2 separate regions of the Homo sapiens genome follow, and region 2 is linked to region 1. The links are contacts of gene promoters, found by promoter capture Hi-C in blood cells and fetal thymus (Javierre and others, 2016). All regions are on one chromosome and are shown on one strand. Each heading gives the region's core, a stretch centred on a gene start or on the middle of the fragment in contact. The rest is flanking DNA. Distances are from core to core; before and after follow the strand shown. Region 1 holds the start of ITGA11 (integrin subunit alpha 11). Region 2 has its middle 19 kb from the start of SPESP1.

Evidence for each region. Contacts are between HindIII fragments. The CHiCAGO score rates a contact against its expected background, and 5 or more counts as called.
Region 2: a contact is called between a fragment that was not itself captured here and the fragment with the promoter of ITGA11 in region 1, in 1 of 17 cell types (M0 macrophages). The highest score is 5.0, in M0 macrophages.

What each region holds. Positions count from the first base shown.
Region 1 is chr15:68,428,044-68,435,898 of GRCh38, reverse strand. ITGA11 (integrin subunit alpha 11) reads left to right here and starts at 3,736. Exons shown (of 30, transcript NM_001004439.2): 1 at 3,736-3,884. The coding sequence starts at 3,833. RefSeq lists a silencer at 1,735-2,029 and an enhancer at 4,576-5,335. The HindIII fragment of the contact is 3,996 bases long and covers 2,288-6,283 here.
Region 2 is chr15:68,907,665-68,915,519 of GRCh38, reverse strand. No RefSeq gene overlaps it. Among named protein-coding and RNA genes, the nearest start is that of SPESP1, 19 kb to the left of the region's middle. The HindIII fragment of the contact is 3,346 bases long and covers 1,330-4,675 here.

The DNA.
Region 1 (7,855 bases), core at 2,487-4,986:
TCTCCTGTAATATGTGGTTTTGATGGGGCTGTCAGTCATGGCGCCTTTCTCTTCCCAAGTCATGGGGCTGGGTGTGTGTCCCAAACTGAGCTAATTATAGCACCATATCCTCCAGACACTAGGACTGGTTCAGGGGTGGGCATGAACCAAAGCCCTAGACTTTTCTGCTGGATCTACTAAAGGAAGGCTGTCTCTCTCCCTTCAGAATCTATGAAGTATAAGCTTGGGACTGCTAGACAGTCAGAGAAACTCTTCTGCTGCAGGAAAGGAAAATGGAGTGAAGCAAAACTAAGAGAAGACAGAGAGAGAGCAGTAACATTGATTTGAGACCCTTGATCCAGCCACACCTGCAGACAGAACACCTTTGCACTTCCTAGTTACATGACCTTTTACATTCTATTTTCTGCTTCAGTTTGATTGTGTTGAATTTCTGTCACTTGCAAGTGAAAGAATCTTCAACTATACAATCTCTTTACTATAAAAAATAAATACAATTTTGTACAAGATGAGTATTAAATTAGATCATGGATATGAAAGGGATTTCAAAAATAGTAAAACACTATACATAGCACTTGTACATTGTTGGTAGGAATCTAAAATGATGTAGCAACTGTGGAAAATAGTTTGGCAGTTCCTCAAATGATTAAACATAAAATTACTATATGATCAGCAATTCCACTCCTAGGTGTATACCCAAGAGAACTGAAAACATACATTCATACAAAAACTTGTATGAACATTATGCTAACATTATGCTATGTTAATGGATGGTAGAACTGCTACCAGCAAGACCGGCAGCACAAGTGTTCATAGCCACATTATTCACAATAACCTAAAGTGGAAACACCTAAATAAGCCTCACCTGATGAATGGATAAACAAAAGGGGGTAGATCCATACAATGGAATGTTACTTGGCAATAAAAAGGAATGAAATACTGATACATGTTGCAACATGGATGAACCTTGGAAACATCATGCTAAGGGAAAGAAGCCAGACTCAAAAGGTCACGTATTATATGATTTCATTTATATGCAACGTCCAGAATAGGCAAATCCATAGAAATAGATTTGTGGTTGCCAGGGACTGGTGGGAAGGAATGGGGAGTGACTGCTCATGGTTACAGGGCTTCTTTTTGGGGTGATAAAAATATTGTGAAATTAGTGAGGATGATTTTACAATCTTGTGAATATACTAACAACTACTGGATTCTATGGCACAGTTTATGGCATGTGAATAAATAAATCAGTTAAAACACTGTGTACATGTAAAGAGTTATTATTATTATTCAACAGAAATCACAGCTTTCATAAAGCCCTTCACCAAATTCTCTGCAGTTCTCCAGCCTTAGAGTCTGGATTGTGCACTTGTCACTCATATGCTGCTGCCTTGGGTGTGATTTAAATAATGTTTAATAGTGATGAAATAATAAATGGTTTTAAATAGATTAATAAATAACAGATTATGATTAAATAAATACATGGTTATGTCTTGTCTCCTCAGCTCCATCACCAGCTGCCCTAGTGTGGGGTTCTCCTTCCGTGTGTCCTACAGAGCACAGGGGCACAGTAGGCACTCTGTAGGATCTGTTGAAAGAACAAATGAGGGCACACCTCTCCCCTCACCCTCCCACATTACACAAAAGCACACAGAGTGATCCTCAGGACCCCCATTCCCCAGGCACCTGTGAGGACGGTGAAGGTGAATGAATGGTAGAATTGTTACCAGCGAGACCAGCAGCAGCGCAGCTAGGACAGCCACTACAGTGCGCCCCTTCAGCAAGCAGCATGCAGACTCTGAGCACAAGCTGCAGACCACCCACACGTCAGAGGTGCCTGGGGCACCCACCAGCATGCCCTGATCCTTGGGGAATTTGCATTCTTTGCACGTGCTCCAGGTCGTTCTGATGCACCTGGAGATTTGTGCAAGGCAGGAATGTGGGCTGCAGCCCATTCCCTAGCTGTAGGGGTGTTCTACATTCAACTCAGCTGGCTTAAACTCAACTCAGTGAAGAGGACTCACTGTCGTATAACTGATAAGTCCCAAGGGGAGTGGGGTTAAGGGGTGGCTTCATTCAGGAGTTCAACAAGATCCTCCATTCTGTCATCCAGTGTCCACCTCATCTCAAGGCCAGATCCTCCTTCCCTACCCTGACCCTGTCAACTTCTGAGCCTACAAAGTTCCTTGTCCCAGGCTGGGAGAGGAGGCAGGAGTGGGAGAGGTGAGGAGAGAGAGTTAGTTCATTTGTTTGTTTGTTCTAGGGGCTCTTTTAGAAAGGCAAGAAAGCTTGCTTCCCAAAAAAACTTTTTCTTTTGTCATATTGCCCTTTCTGAAACGATGGGCTGGGAAGGGCAACATACTGATTCATTTCAGCCTGAACCGCATGCCTCCTTACACACACACACACACACACACACACACCAGGGACGGAATCACCTTCCCCGAGTCTGTGGCTGAATGGGTGAGGTGAAGATGAAGTAAAACCCAGATAGCCAACCGAAAGATAGTGAGGTTGGGAGACGAGCACAAGCCCACTTCACTTATGTGAACCTGGGTCTTCTCAAACTCCAGCTCATCTTCAGGGGCCCTGACTGAACATCACCTCCTCTGGGAAGCCCTTCCAATACCTCCCAGATAGAAAACTCTATCCTTTGTGCACCCACACACCACCTGTACTCACCCATCCATCCACCCGCCCACCTACTTTGTTCCTGGGTGTTAGGGGCTGAGTACTCCATTGTGAACCAGAGATTTCTACCCTGATGGTGTTTTCAGTCTGCACAGGAGAGAAAAGTTAAATGATCACACCAATTGATGCCTTGCTTCTCTACTAAGCACAATGAAGAGAAATGAGGGAGAGCGGGCTGGGGAATATCAGCATGTGTCTGGGACTCAACCTGGTGGGGACGGGAAGAGGGGGTGAAGGAAGCCTTTCCTGAGAAAGTGGGGGAAGGGCGCTCTGCTGTGGCTTTCCCTGCATCTTGGCCTTCCTACCCTCTGCCTCGGCTTCCTCCATTGCTGGAAAAGCCTCCACAAGCGCGGTGGAGGTCCGGGGCCTGGATTTAAAGCTCTTGAGATAAATGTGCATTGAATTTAACTACCAGTGATTAGAAGAGGGAAAGAAGGTGGCAGGGTTACAAAGAAGAGCTTCACGTTAGGTTAAGAGGGGGTGCACGGTGTCCCTGGGTGCTTTGGAATGCCTCAGGTGTGGAGGCTCAGGGAGTGGCAGTGGAGGCGAATCTGCATGTATTCCAGGGTCAGAAGAAACACTAGCCTCTACAATTCAAGCCGCAGGGTGCAGGGAGACACGGGGATGTCTTAGAATGGACCTTTGAGGGACATCCACTCACTTGGCCAAGGGAGACCTGCGTTCCAGCAGGTGTTCCTGAGCCAGCTTGGGTACCCTCTGAGTTTTGTGAATCTCTTTTCACTGGGAAATGGGAATAAAAACCACTTTTCCTGAACAGAATCTGACTGAGGCGGTGCGGTGCTACACTGGTGAGGGGGTTCCCAGGAGCGGTTCTCTGGAGTTTTCTCCAGAGGCTGACGTGGGGTTGGCGGAGAAGGAGCGCTGCACAGGCGCGTCGAGGCAGCGCGCCGCCTGCCCAGGTGGCAGAGCGGCCGAGACTGGCCCAGAGCCCGAGCCGGAGTGGTGTCCGGCGCCCCTCCCCTCCGCTCGAGCCCTCCCACTTCCTCTGAATGAGCCGCAGCTGTCAGGGAGCCCGGCGCCCCGCGCAGTGCAGGCTGCAGGCGCCGCGCCGAGGAGGCTGCCGCTCTGGCTTGCCGCCCCCCGCCGCCGCTGCACACCGGACCCAGCCGCCGTGCCGCGGGCCATGGACCTGCCCAGGGGCCTGGTGGTGGCCTGGGCGCTCAGCCTGTGGCCAGGTAGGTGCCCACCCTCTGCCTCCCCTTGCCTCTCGGAGTCCCTCCCTGGGCCCTCGGGGCTTGGATCCAGCGGCCAGGATCGGGACGCGACCCTCCTCCCAGGGTCAGACCTCAGCTGCTCTTGGGGACGTGGGTCCCCCAGGGACTGGCCCCAGTCTAGCGGTTCAGTCAAGTTTCGCTAAAGAGGGAGGTGCGAAGGCTATTGAAAGCCGGGACTCTTTGGTGTGTTTGGGAAGAGTTGAAGAGGCTTGAGTTGAAAAGCTCCCAGATCTGGTGGCCCTCCTGGGCGCCTTAGGTGCCTCCAAGGCCCATGCCGGGGTTCCCGCACGGCTGCCAGGGGCACTCGGGTGTCCCGGGAGCGCCGAGGGCGCACGGCCCCGGCTGGGGAAGGGAATCAGCGCCAAGAGAGTGTGCCCTGGCTGCCCTCCTGCCTGGCTCCGGGGAAGCATCTCAAAGTTTGGAGAGCCGGGCGCGGCGGCCCCGGAGGGCTGAAGGGTGGGGGTGAGGGCTGCGCAGAGTGCCTCCGGCCAAAGACAGAGCAAAGCCCCGGGGCGATGGCCGGTAGGCGGGGGCTAGCTCTCGTCTGCCCGGCCAGCAGCGGCGGGACACAGTCGCGCAGCGCAGGACCCCCGAAACGTTACCTGACACCCGGGGTAGGGACCCGGCATTGCCTCCCAACCCGCGCTCGGAATTATGCAATTATTCAATAATCTGGGGAAAGCCGCCGTCGCCTAGACGCGCGCCGCCGCCTAATGCACTCCAGGTGTCGGGGCGCGGCAGGAACCTCCGGCCCGAGGGGCGCGCGGCTGGGAGCGGGAAGCCAGCCCTGAGCTCTCCGCCCTAGGGTACCCTGGCCCCGGCCGTCCCACACCGGGCTCCCCGGCTCCACCCTCCACGCGGGGCGGCTGCCAGTGATGCTGTTCTGCGGAAGACGGCCAAGTGCTCCGGCAAGGGCCAGCGCCTCGGTTACTGGCCGGGTGTGGGCGCTCAACCTTGCCTCCCCTTCTGCGTGGGCTCCAGGCCCGAGCTGGGGCCAGTAGTGGGGGTCAGATGCGGTGGTAGTGGGAGAGGTGCCCTCAGGGAGCTCAGGTGGAGACCCCTATCCCGCAGCCGCTTGCCCCAGTCCCCGGGTACCACGCGAAGCAAGTCCACCCTCCTGTCGGCCTACAGAGGAGCTTCTCAGAGGGCCCATGGTTGAAAGGGCCTCTGGCTAGTGGAATCCTAGAGTCACAGTTTAAAACAATCATTGATACATTGAGTTGTGGGGGCTTGGAAGGGAGAGCAGGGGAAGAACTGCCACCAGGCCAATATGCAACTAGAAGCCAGCTGCGGGAGGAGGCCAAGCCCATTTAGGTGTGTTTAGACAGGAGGGGAGAATCTTCTCCAGGAACTGTCCTCATATCACTAGGAGATCCAGCCACAAGAAAAGAGACGCACTCCTGTGTGACTCCAGATAGGTGGCTGCATCAGAACCTTGGGAAGGAGTGGCTGCCTTAGGGGCTAGGGACAGCCTGGACCTCAGGAAGCTAAGAGCAATGGCTTTGGAATCAGACCTGGCTTCCACTTCTGGCTCTGCACCCTGCTAGCTGTTCAATCTTGGACTGGTTATGCGACCTTTCCAACAGGTTTCCTTATGTGAAGAATGGAGACACAAATTCCGTGTCCTGTAAAGTTGTCAGGATGCACTAAGGCACTGTAAGAAAGGCCCTTAACACAGGGCTGGGTGCACAGTAGGCTTTAATCAATGGTTGTTAATGTTGTTGCTACTCAAGGAGGAGGGGGCAGAGAATGACATTAAAGGACCTCTGAAGACACAGGATTTGTGACTCAGAGCTCCGCTTATATGGCGAAAACCACTCCTGAGTTATGTCTGGTCAGTTGCATTCTTGAAATATGGGATTCATTAAACATATCAATCAATGTTGGAACAATGACATCTGCTTGCAAGGAGCTGGGGGTGGGGCCCTAGCGTGTGTGCAATCTGGGTCCTGCCTGTAACTGAGAATAAGCCAAGGCCAGGGAAAGCTAAACAGAGGCACCAGGGAGTGAATGGCTTGGGGAAACCAAGGGCTGGGTGTTCAAACAAGAGAAGTTCAATTTCAGCCAGATAAGCAAGGAAGGCTTCCTGGAGGAGGAGATATCATTTGAACTGGCCCTGGAAAAGTGTGTAGAGTGTGCATGGGCCTGAAAGTGGGAATGTTCATATTTTGGAGTATTATTTTCTGAGACTAGTTAAAGAAGATGATGAATATTTTAAAACCACTCTGGTCAGTGTGGACTTTGAAGACTAGAAGGGTCTCAGGGATCATTGGGTTCACTCCTCAGGCTCCAGGACAGGACTGATGTTGATACCTCATCCATGCATCACATGAATTCAATGTGAGGATTACCAGGAAGCTTGTCTACTGGTGATGGCAGTTTGGCTGGGCAGGGAACCTGTCAGAGGCCAAGTTGAGGGTGAGACCTCAGAGCATCTACTCTCCCAGAGCTCCAGCTGCAGGCTGGACAGCGTGATGGGGTAGACAAAACTAACAGGAAAGCCTAAAAAAAAAGTAATCAAGTCCAAAGAGAGAGATCCATTGACCAGAGCTTTACAGTCATAACCTATCTGTAGGAAGGGTGATGATTCTTAGAAGCATAATCTTTGCTGAGCACCTGTTATCTGCCAGGCCCCATAAAGACACAAAGTGAGATCAGACACAGCGTAAGGGTGGAGGCCCTGGAGTTTCACTGCCTGGGATTGGCCTAGCCCCTGCCGGTTAGGGCTCTGTGCTCTTGGCAAGTTACTCCATGGCTCTGTGCCTCAGTTTCCTCACCTACAAAGTGGGGGTAATAATAGAACTTAGAGTTATCACAAAGATTAATGCTTAGAAAGTGCCAGGCATGTATTAAGCACTCAAGGAGGTTGTCTTCTCCAACATCATCAGCAGCAGCAGTAGCACTCAAGATATTGACTATTCAGGATCTAAGGACACAGAGATATAACTTTCAAACTCAAGTTCTCAAGAGAAGTTTAGAGGAAGTACATTGAAGAATCAGAGGAGACATACATGCCAGGGCCCCAAATGAGTGAAGACTTTCCTAGTCCCTCCCGCAAAGCCCTGGCCCAAACTCTTGATCATAATAAGAACTCAGGGTTGTTGTTTTGTTTGTTTGTTTACCATCGGGGCTGTCTTGAAGTCAGTATGCTCTTGATGTGGGTGTATTGTGGTGTGGAAAAGGAGAAGGCCCATACCATGCAACATGGCCCTTGTGGGTAGGGGTCCTACCCAACAGAAAGCAACCTGTGGAAAAGCACAGTGCTAGACACCACAGGTGTACAAAGGCTCCAGAGGTCCAAGACTTGCTCCCAGCCTCTCCTTCCCAGTGGAGAGCAGGGAAGAAGGGAAAGTTTGTCACTTTGCCACCCCATTGCCCACTTTGACAGCCAAGCCCCTCAGCTGCCATTAGCTGAGGAGCTTCTGGATCTTTCCATATCACAAGCAGACCCTGGAGTCTCACTCTTTTTCTGCTTACTCACCATGACCCCATCTCTACCCCACAGTGGACCCCCAGAGAGGGGATGTCTATCTCCATGCTCTTCCCACCATTCCCAGCCCATCCACACAGGGCTGTGAGCCCTGGAAGAACTCAGACAGTATCTTACCTCTCAACCTTGCCCTCTCTGAACCTCTTTTTCCACCCTCCTGTAGTGGGGAGCTCTTCCTTCTTCTAACAGCAGGGACCTTCCCTTGCATTCTCCCTCCCTTCCACCAACACCCCCAGCTCCTATCACTTAGGATAAAAATATGTTCTAAGCTGAGCTGGCTTTGCTCTTGCTATGCAGAAGGGAATTTGGGGAATTTTAAAAGCCCCTGTTTCTTCTCCACAATGCCTGACTTTGGGTGTTATTGTCTCACCATGGGCTTCCAGAGCTTACTTTGGGGGTCAAAGTCGAACATTGTTCTAGGATCCATCATAACCCTCCCCAG
Region 2 (7,855 bases), core at 1,753-4,252, 480 kb before region 1:
GTCCCACTTCACTCCCCCAGGCCATTTGGAACCTTCCAGAAATAACATTTATTTTAGAGCCATTCACAGACAGCTTCTGCTTCCTGTTTTAAAAATATCTGAAAATTTACTTGGATGGTGTCTAGAGAGAGACAGATGTAGGCTTGGGAAAACCCAAGAGAGTAAGAAATAACTTAGGGAAGAAGGAAAAGCATTCTTTATTCTTTTTATCCTCCATATTTAAAATAGAGCAATATGAATAGGCCCAAACACATAACTTTAGTTCTTTAGACAATATATTAGCTTTATTTGATAAGTGACTTTAATATTACCTAAGTGAACCCTTTTCCTCAAAATATAGTAGGATAGATAAGGTGTTTGTTTGTTCATTTGTTTTCTGAGATGGTGTGGAGAGCCTGGTTTGTCACCAGTGGCAGTCACCACTGCTTTTTGTCTCTTATGTAGACAATGCAAGTACATGGTATTCAGAGTAAGGACCTAACAACAGCTCCCTGATTCTAAAAAAAAAAAAACAAATAAAAATAAAAAAAAGTGTTTTTAAAGACATTCTGGCCAGACACGGTGGCTCATGCCTGTAATCCCAGCACTTTGGGAGGCCAAGGCAGGTGGATCACTTGAGGTCAGGAGTTCGAGACCAGCCTGGCCAACATGGCGAAACCCCATCTCTACTAAAAATACAAAAATTAGCCAGACCTGGCACACACCTGCAATCCCAGCTACTTGGGAGGCTGAATCAGGAGAATTGCTTGAACCAAGGAGACGGAGATTGCAGTGAGCCGAGATTGTGCCACTGCACTCCAGCCTGAGCAACAGAGTGAAACTCTGTCTCAAAAAAAAAAAAAAAATTCTGCCTTAAAAAACAGAAACTAATATAAGCACACCCTAAAAAAATTCAAATGAAATACTTCCAGTCCCATTCCCAAGTACTAACCACCCTTGACAATTTGCTGGGAATATAGTATTTCCTGTATTATTTATGAGCATACATATACACATGTATTCAGATTGTTTTATTTTTTAACTTATTTTAATACTGTACATGCCTGTAACTTGTTTTCTTCTCCCCAGTTTATTCCCAACTTACTTCCATGTCAGTGTATACAAAACACCTCAATGAAGTTTTTAACTCTATTGTTAAATATCTAGGTTGTCAACTTTTAACTATTACAAATGTTACAGATATTCAGCAATAAGCTTTCCTTGTTCATATATTTTTGCAAATTTGTGTAAATATTCAGTGTGCTGGGTTCTCAGAAATGACCTTACTCAATCAGAGTATATGCGTATTTAAAATTCTGTATATGGGGTCAAATTGCCCTCCAAAAAGCTTGTATCCGTTTACTTTTCCACAAATGCAGACATGATTACTGTCTTCCCCACATCCTTTTGGTGAGACTTTTTATCTGACTCTCCACTTTGATAAAAGTAATCTATTTTCAGTCATTCATGAGCTCCAATTGCCTTTGTTTTAACTGACCTTGCAGTTGAAATCTCACTGGTGCTGTGAATGGCCAAGTCTTAAGTGGTTAATTAATGAAGCTGCCGTAACTTTTTTGTTTATTTTACCATTTTGATTCTTTTCTTTCAGGTCTAGAAGTCTTTTTTGTTTTGATTTGGTTTAGTTTTGTTTTTCAAGTAGCAACAGGCAAATATGTTAATCAAACTTGATCACAAATGACTTTATTTCAAGACTTAAGTTCTACTATAAATCATTATTTATAGATTCTGCAGACCATGCCATTGGTTAAAGGACAACATGCAATCTATGAGAAACACCACTATTCTCTTTTACTATTATTTGTTTCAGCACTAAACCTCCAACAATACAGTAGTTTGGCTGTTGGTAATGTGTATTGATTTTTTAGTAATGCGATTCACTTGGGGTACAGTTTCAGCAGGGCTGTAATACTCTCTGAACCTTTTATTTCGTTCCATATTCAAAAATATTTCTTAGATCTCTGGATACTTACATTTCAGCCCTGGAACCCCAAATCTAGGGCTTTCTGAATTTATGCCACAGAGGTGTGGCAACAGCCTCCAGGTAATTTTGAGAAAGGTAAGTCTCTCTCAGGTCAGAAAGAAAATTGCAAATTTTCTATGGCCATTTTGATTTTAGTTTATAAAACACTCTACTCTGAGTTATATAAAGGACATTATGTAATTGCATTTGTTGTTGTTGTTGTCCGGTAGTCTATTTGAGTTAGAGATTGGTTTAGAAAGATGTGGGCAGAGGGTTGTGGAGGCCTCCGTTCCTCTAAGCTGAACTCTTCTAGTTTGAGTGCCTGTTTCAGCATGAAGGGAAAACATCTATCTTCTGTTCTTTACCAGAAAAAATCTCCAGACTCAGCAGTAAGAAACCAGGCATCCTCTAAGATTAGGGTGTGCTGTACTCTGAAGGGCCTACGTCAGTAACCAACCATCCTGGTTTACCTGGACAGGACTGTCTGGGTTTTAGCACTGACAGCCCTGCATCCCGTGAAATCCTGTAGTTCTGTGCAACCCAGAGGGTTGGTTGCTTTAGCAGTGCAAACAGGCTCAATGGCATCTATTACTTTGTCATTTTGTAGAAATGGCAAAATGGTTATAAAAGTTGCGATCTGTTTTAACATTTAAATTTTTTAAATTAACCCATTTAAAACACCCCAAATGTACAATTTATTATACTTGTGCTATTTATAAAAATAATCTCAGAGTTTTTAACAATATTAATTTACACATAGCAGTCCACTAACGGCATAAGTTAAACATTGTAAGGTGAACATCTCCTTCCTTCATTCTTGTTGGTCTGTCTCTGACTACAGAAATAGCCTCATATAAATGGCATGTCCACATTCTAAATTCAAGGCCCTCTGTGAAAGTGAGTTCTGGCCGTGGCAGCTCTGATGAGGTGGGAGGAGTCATTTTGCCACTAAAGTGGCAAAATGTAAGACATTCAAGAGGGTGGAGTGCCAAGAACAAGGTAAGCCTGCCCGTGGTGCAGGCAAGAGGGAACATCGAAAAAAAATTTATAAAGTAACAAAACCAATGGAAAGTTGACCTACTTTTTATTGTCACTACTCCCTGGCAATTATAAAAAATGTCAATGGTAAGGCCAGGCACGTTGGCTCACACCTGTAATCCCAGCACTTTGGGAGGCCAAGGCAGGCGGACCACCTGAGGTCAGGAGTTTGAAACCAGCCTGGCCAACATGGCGAAATCCTGTCTCTACTAAAAGTACAAAAATTAGCCAGATGTGGTGGCACATGCCTGTAATCCCAGCTACTTGGGAGGCTGAGGCAAGAGAATCACTTGAACTAGGGAGGCGGAGGTTGCACTGAGCCAACAATGCACCACTGCACTCCAGCCTGGGCGACAGAGCAAGACTCTGTCTAAAAAAAAAAAAAAAAAAAAAAAAAAAGTCAATAATAAAACACTCCTACCTAAAAACAAAATTATTGGTCTGCACTCTATACAATAGCAGTGATTACTGGTGAGTTTTAAGAATATACATGTAATCTGTCAATTAGTACATCTGTTTACCGCTTATACTTGAGAATTGTTCCAGCTGTCTGGCACAGTGTGTGCCTGAATCCGGCTCAAGTGATAAACACATTCCTGCATTGAGATGGTAGATTTGACATCAGCAATGATGGCACAGCCTTATAGATGAAGAAGCAAAACCTGAGTTACTTCAATCATGTCAGTCTTTGTGACCTCTTAGCGTTTTCATTTGTATTTAAAGTTGAAAACAGGCCAGGTGCGGTGGCTCATGCCTGTAATTCCAGCACTTTGGGAGGCTGAGGCAGGCAGATCACCTGAGGTCAGGAGTTTGAGACCAGCCTGGCCAACGCAGCAAAAACCCATCTCTACTAAAAATACAAAAACTAGCTGGGCATGGTGACATGTGCCTGTAATTCCAGCTACTTTGGAAGACTGAGGTAAGAGAATCACTTAAACTTGAGAGGCAGAGGTTGCAGTTAGCCGAGATCATGCCACCGCACTCCAACCTGGGTGACGGAGCAAGACTCCATCTCAAAAAATAAAAGGAAAAAAATAATAAAGTTGGAAACAGTAAAGTAGGGCAAATTGTGAGATATATTTTTGTTGTTAACACAAATTTTATTTCATATGTGAAATATCTTTAAAATGTATACTCTTTTAGTAGTTGTTATAAAACTAAAGAACAAATCAAGAGAATCATTATTACTGATTATTACAGAAGGTAATCTTGCCCTATAGAGGATCGGGGATGTTGAATATATTAGGTATGCCATCAACTGCCCCCTAACAAAACAAAAAGTGAGAAGAGGCCTGCCAGAAGCACTGCTCCAAAACATTAACTCTGCAAGGAATATTTAAGGAGCTTTGGAATTGGGCGTTGGGCATTGCAGTGTTACCAGCTGTCTTTTTTTTTTTTGTTTTTTTTTTTTTTTCAACATTTTCCCACCAAAAGGCATACAGATACTGTAATAAGCACATTCAGCAGTTTGTTCTAGGTCAAATCTTGGGAACATTACGCTAAGTGAAATAAGACAGTCACAAAAAGACAAATACTACATGATTCCACTTAAATGTGGTTTTAAAGAAACCAGACTCTTAGAAACAAGCAGAATTGTTGCTAGGGACTGGGGAAAGGGGAGAGGGGGAGTTGCTGTTTAATAGGTATAGAGCTTCAGTTTTGCAAGATGAAAAAGCTTTTAGAAATCTGTTGCACAACAATATGAAAATAGCTGACACTACTGAACTTCACACTTAAAAATGGTTAAGATGATACATTTTATACTGTTTAGCACAAAAATAATTTTATAAAAATGTACCTTTTGAAGGTTTTTTTATCTGATATGTGTAATACATAAAGCCAATTCTATCTAGATCCAGTCTTTATATTCTTTTTTTAATATACAGACAGGGTCTCACTCTGTTGCCCAGGCTAGAGTGCAGTGTTGTGATCATAGCTCATTGCAGCCTCAAACTCTTGGGCTCAAAAGATCCTCTTGCCTCAGCCTCCTGAGTAGCTAGGACTACAGGTGCATGCTACCACACCCAGCTAACTTTTTAATTTTTTGTAGAGACAGGGTCTTGCTGTGTTGTCCAGTGTTTACATTCTAAAGACACTGTATGTTGTCTGTCTAGAAATAATATGCTTTGGAGTGACCCAAACTGCAGTTAATGACATTAACAGGTAGAGGTGTTTTACATACCCAATGAAGGGATACACCTTTGCAAACTTTTCTATATTCTTCACAGATGCAGTCTGGCCTGGTGCTATCATGAAGCACATGTTCTCTCTCTGCTTTCAAGGACAGACATTTATGGGTTTATGATCTTCTCTCTATAGAGTAGGAAATATGTCATAGAGTTACAATACAAACTCACATTCACTAAAGAACAATTTAATAAGCAGTTTCTTTATTTTCATTGTTAAAACATAACAAATTGAGGTGCCTGTATTATTCTAATTTTAATTTACAAAATTCTAATCTAGCTCACAGTAGGACCCTAAGGAAACATGTTTGAATTTTTGTTATCTTTCCAAAAGGCTGAATGTTTTGGCTTAAACAGTTTGACTTTTTTTTCATTTGTTTACTAATTTGTAATGTAATTTAATACATTGCCACTGATATGGACAGTAGACTCTTTTAGGCACTAGATAAAAAGCACAGCCTCTGTGGTCCATGCTCCAGATTATTTTTCTACTCAGTCCTAACACCTGTGACCACCTGGCTGCTTGCTCAAATATAACAAGCTGGAATGAGAATGAGACTTAGATATGATAGACTTGGCATGTATCCTCAGTGTGTGGGCTGGTGGGAGGGATCATTTGATAAACAGTTAACCCCTCAACAACACAGATTTGAACTACATGAGTCCACTTCTATGTGGGTTTTTAAAATAAATACATTAGAAAATGTGTTCTACATTTCCAACAATTTGAAAAAACTTTGATGTGAACCATGTAGCTTAAAAATAATGAAAAAATTAAGAAAGTTAAGTATGTCATAAATGTATAAAATATACGTCGATATTGGTCCATTTTATCATTTATTACCATAAAATGAGTCCATTATAATATGTTAAAATTTATAAAAACTTATGCACACACTTACAGACGGTAGATGACACAATTCAGTCAAGAGAAATGTAAACAAATATAAGATGCAGTATTAAATCGTAATGCACCAAATGAACTGTGGTATATACTGTACTACTGTAAAAACTTCATAGCCACCTCCTGTTGCTATTGTGGGGAGCTCAACTGTCGTGAGTATCTGCTTAACTCAAGTGATGCAGGTCATCTCCAGGTGAGCAGTTTCTCCCTGCAGACCATTGGAACCACAGTACATGTGATCTCTCATGGTTCTCACATAGCTTTCATTATGTTTAGTTCAATACTGTAAACCTTGACTCACACCATGGAATCCATACAAAGTGCCCCTAGTGATGCTGGAAGTGTCTCAAGAAGCAGAGAAAATTCATGACATTACAAGAAAAAGTTAGATTGCTTGATACGTACTGTGGATTGAGGTCTGCAGCTATGGTTGCCATTTCAGAAAGACAATTCACCTTGTAAACAGTTAACTTACAATACAGATAAATATAGTAGAGTACTGTCAATGGATTTTCCTTAGGATTTTTTAAATAACATTTTCTTTTGTTCTAGCTTACTTTAAGAATATAGTATATAATATATCTAATATACTAAATATGTGTTAATTGACTGTTTATGTTATCAGTAAGGCTATCAGTAGTTAAGTTTTGGGTGAGTCAAAAGTTACACATGGATTTTTGACTGAGCAGGGGGTAGGCACCCCTAACCCCTGCATCATTTAAGGATCAGCTGTATTTAAAACTCAGAGTTATGTTTTCACAAATTTGGAATTTTGTTACCAACCACTCTGAAATCCAGCCTCACTGGGCTTTCCCTGAGCCCCACCGCTTCTCTAAAATGCTTTGCCAGACCATTTCCACACCAGCCTTCCTCTCACTCCTCCACTCTTGCTGTACCCACTTTCTGCAACCCCACAACTCCTGCTCCAGTGAGAACTTACCTTTTCTTCTTCACAGACAACTACCCCTATAAACCTTTCGGCTGGTATTTATTTATTTTTCCTTTTAATACTTTGATTTCTTTTAACCATTGAACTTTTCAAAGGAATGCAATGTTTATATAGAACTGGCCAGAATTTCAGTTACAGTTATTTTAAAAACTGGATTTGTTAATGGAAGAGTGTTTTCCAACTAGACAAATAGAAGGCAAAATGGATTGCCATTAATACAAGTGAAATACTACTAGTTATTTTGACCTGGGTAGAAGTTACACGGGTGTTCCTTTTGTGACCAATCACTGAGCTCTTCATTTCTGTCTTATACACTTCTCTGTAAATTATATTTCAAAATTACATACTTTTAAAATGTTGATATACACTGTCAAATTGCCCTTCAAAAATTCTGTGCAAATCTACATTCAGACCCCCCAGTGAGCCAAGCACTTCTTCCACATGGCGCCCTTGCCAGTTGTACAGTAGATTTCTGCCTGCACAAAGCTCATCTACTTTCAATCATTTACTGAGAACATTTTGCAGTTGTGCAGTTTCCAGGTCTTCATCTATGCTATCGATAATTGTGAAATTATGAAACATGCCATAACCATCTGCAGAAACTTTGTCCTTCCAGTCTTCCATCTTGTTTTGCCATTTTGCCATTCCATCTTATCTGCATTTGAAAATACTTCATTTCATCCTCGCGTGAAATTAGTGAGATAACTTCACATATTGGGAATATCATAAAAGTTAGCAATTCTGACATCTTTAAAAAGCTGGGACCAAATTAGTTTCTTATCTTGCAGAAATACCAGGAGTTGGTGTTTGCAGAGAAT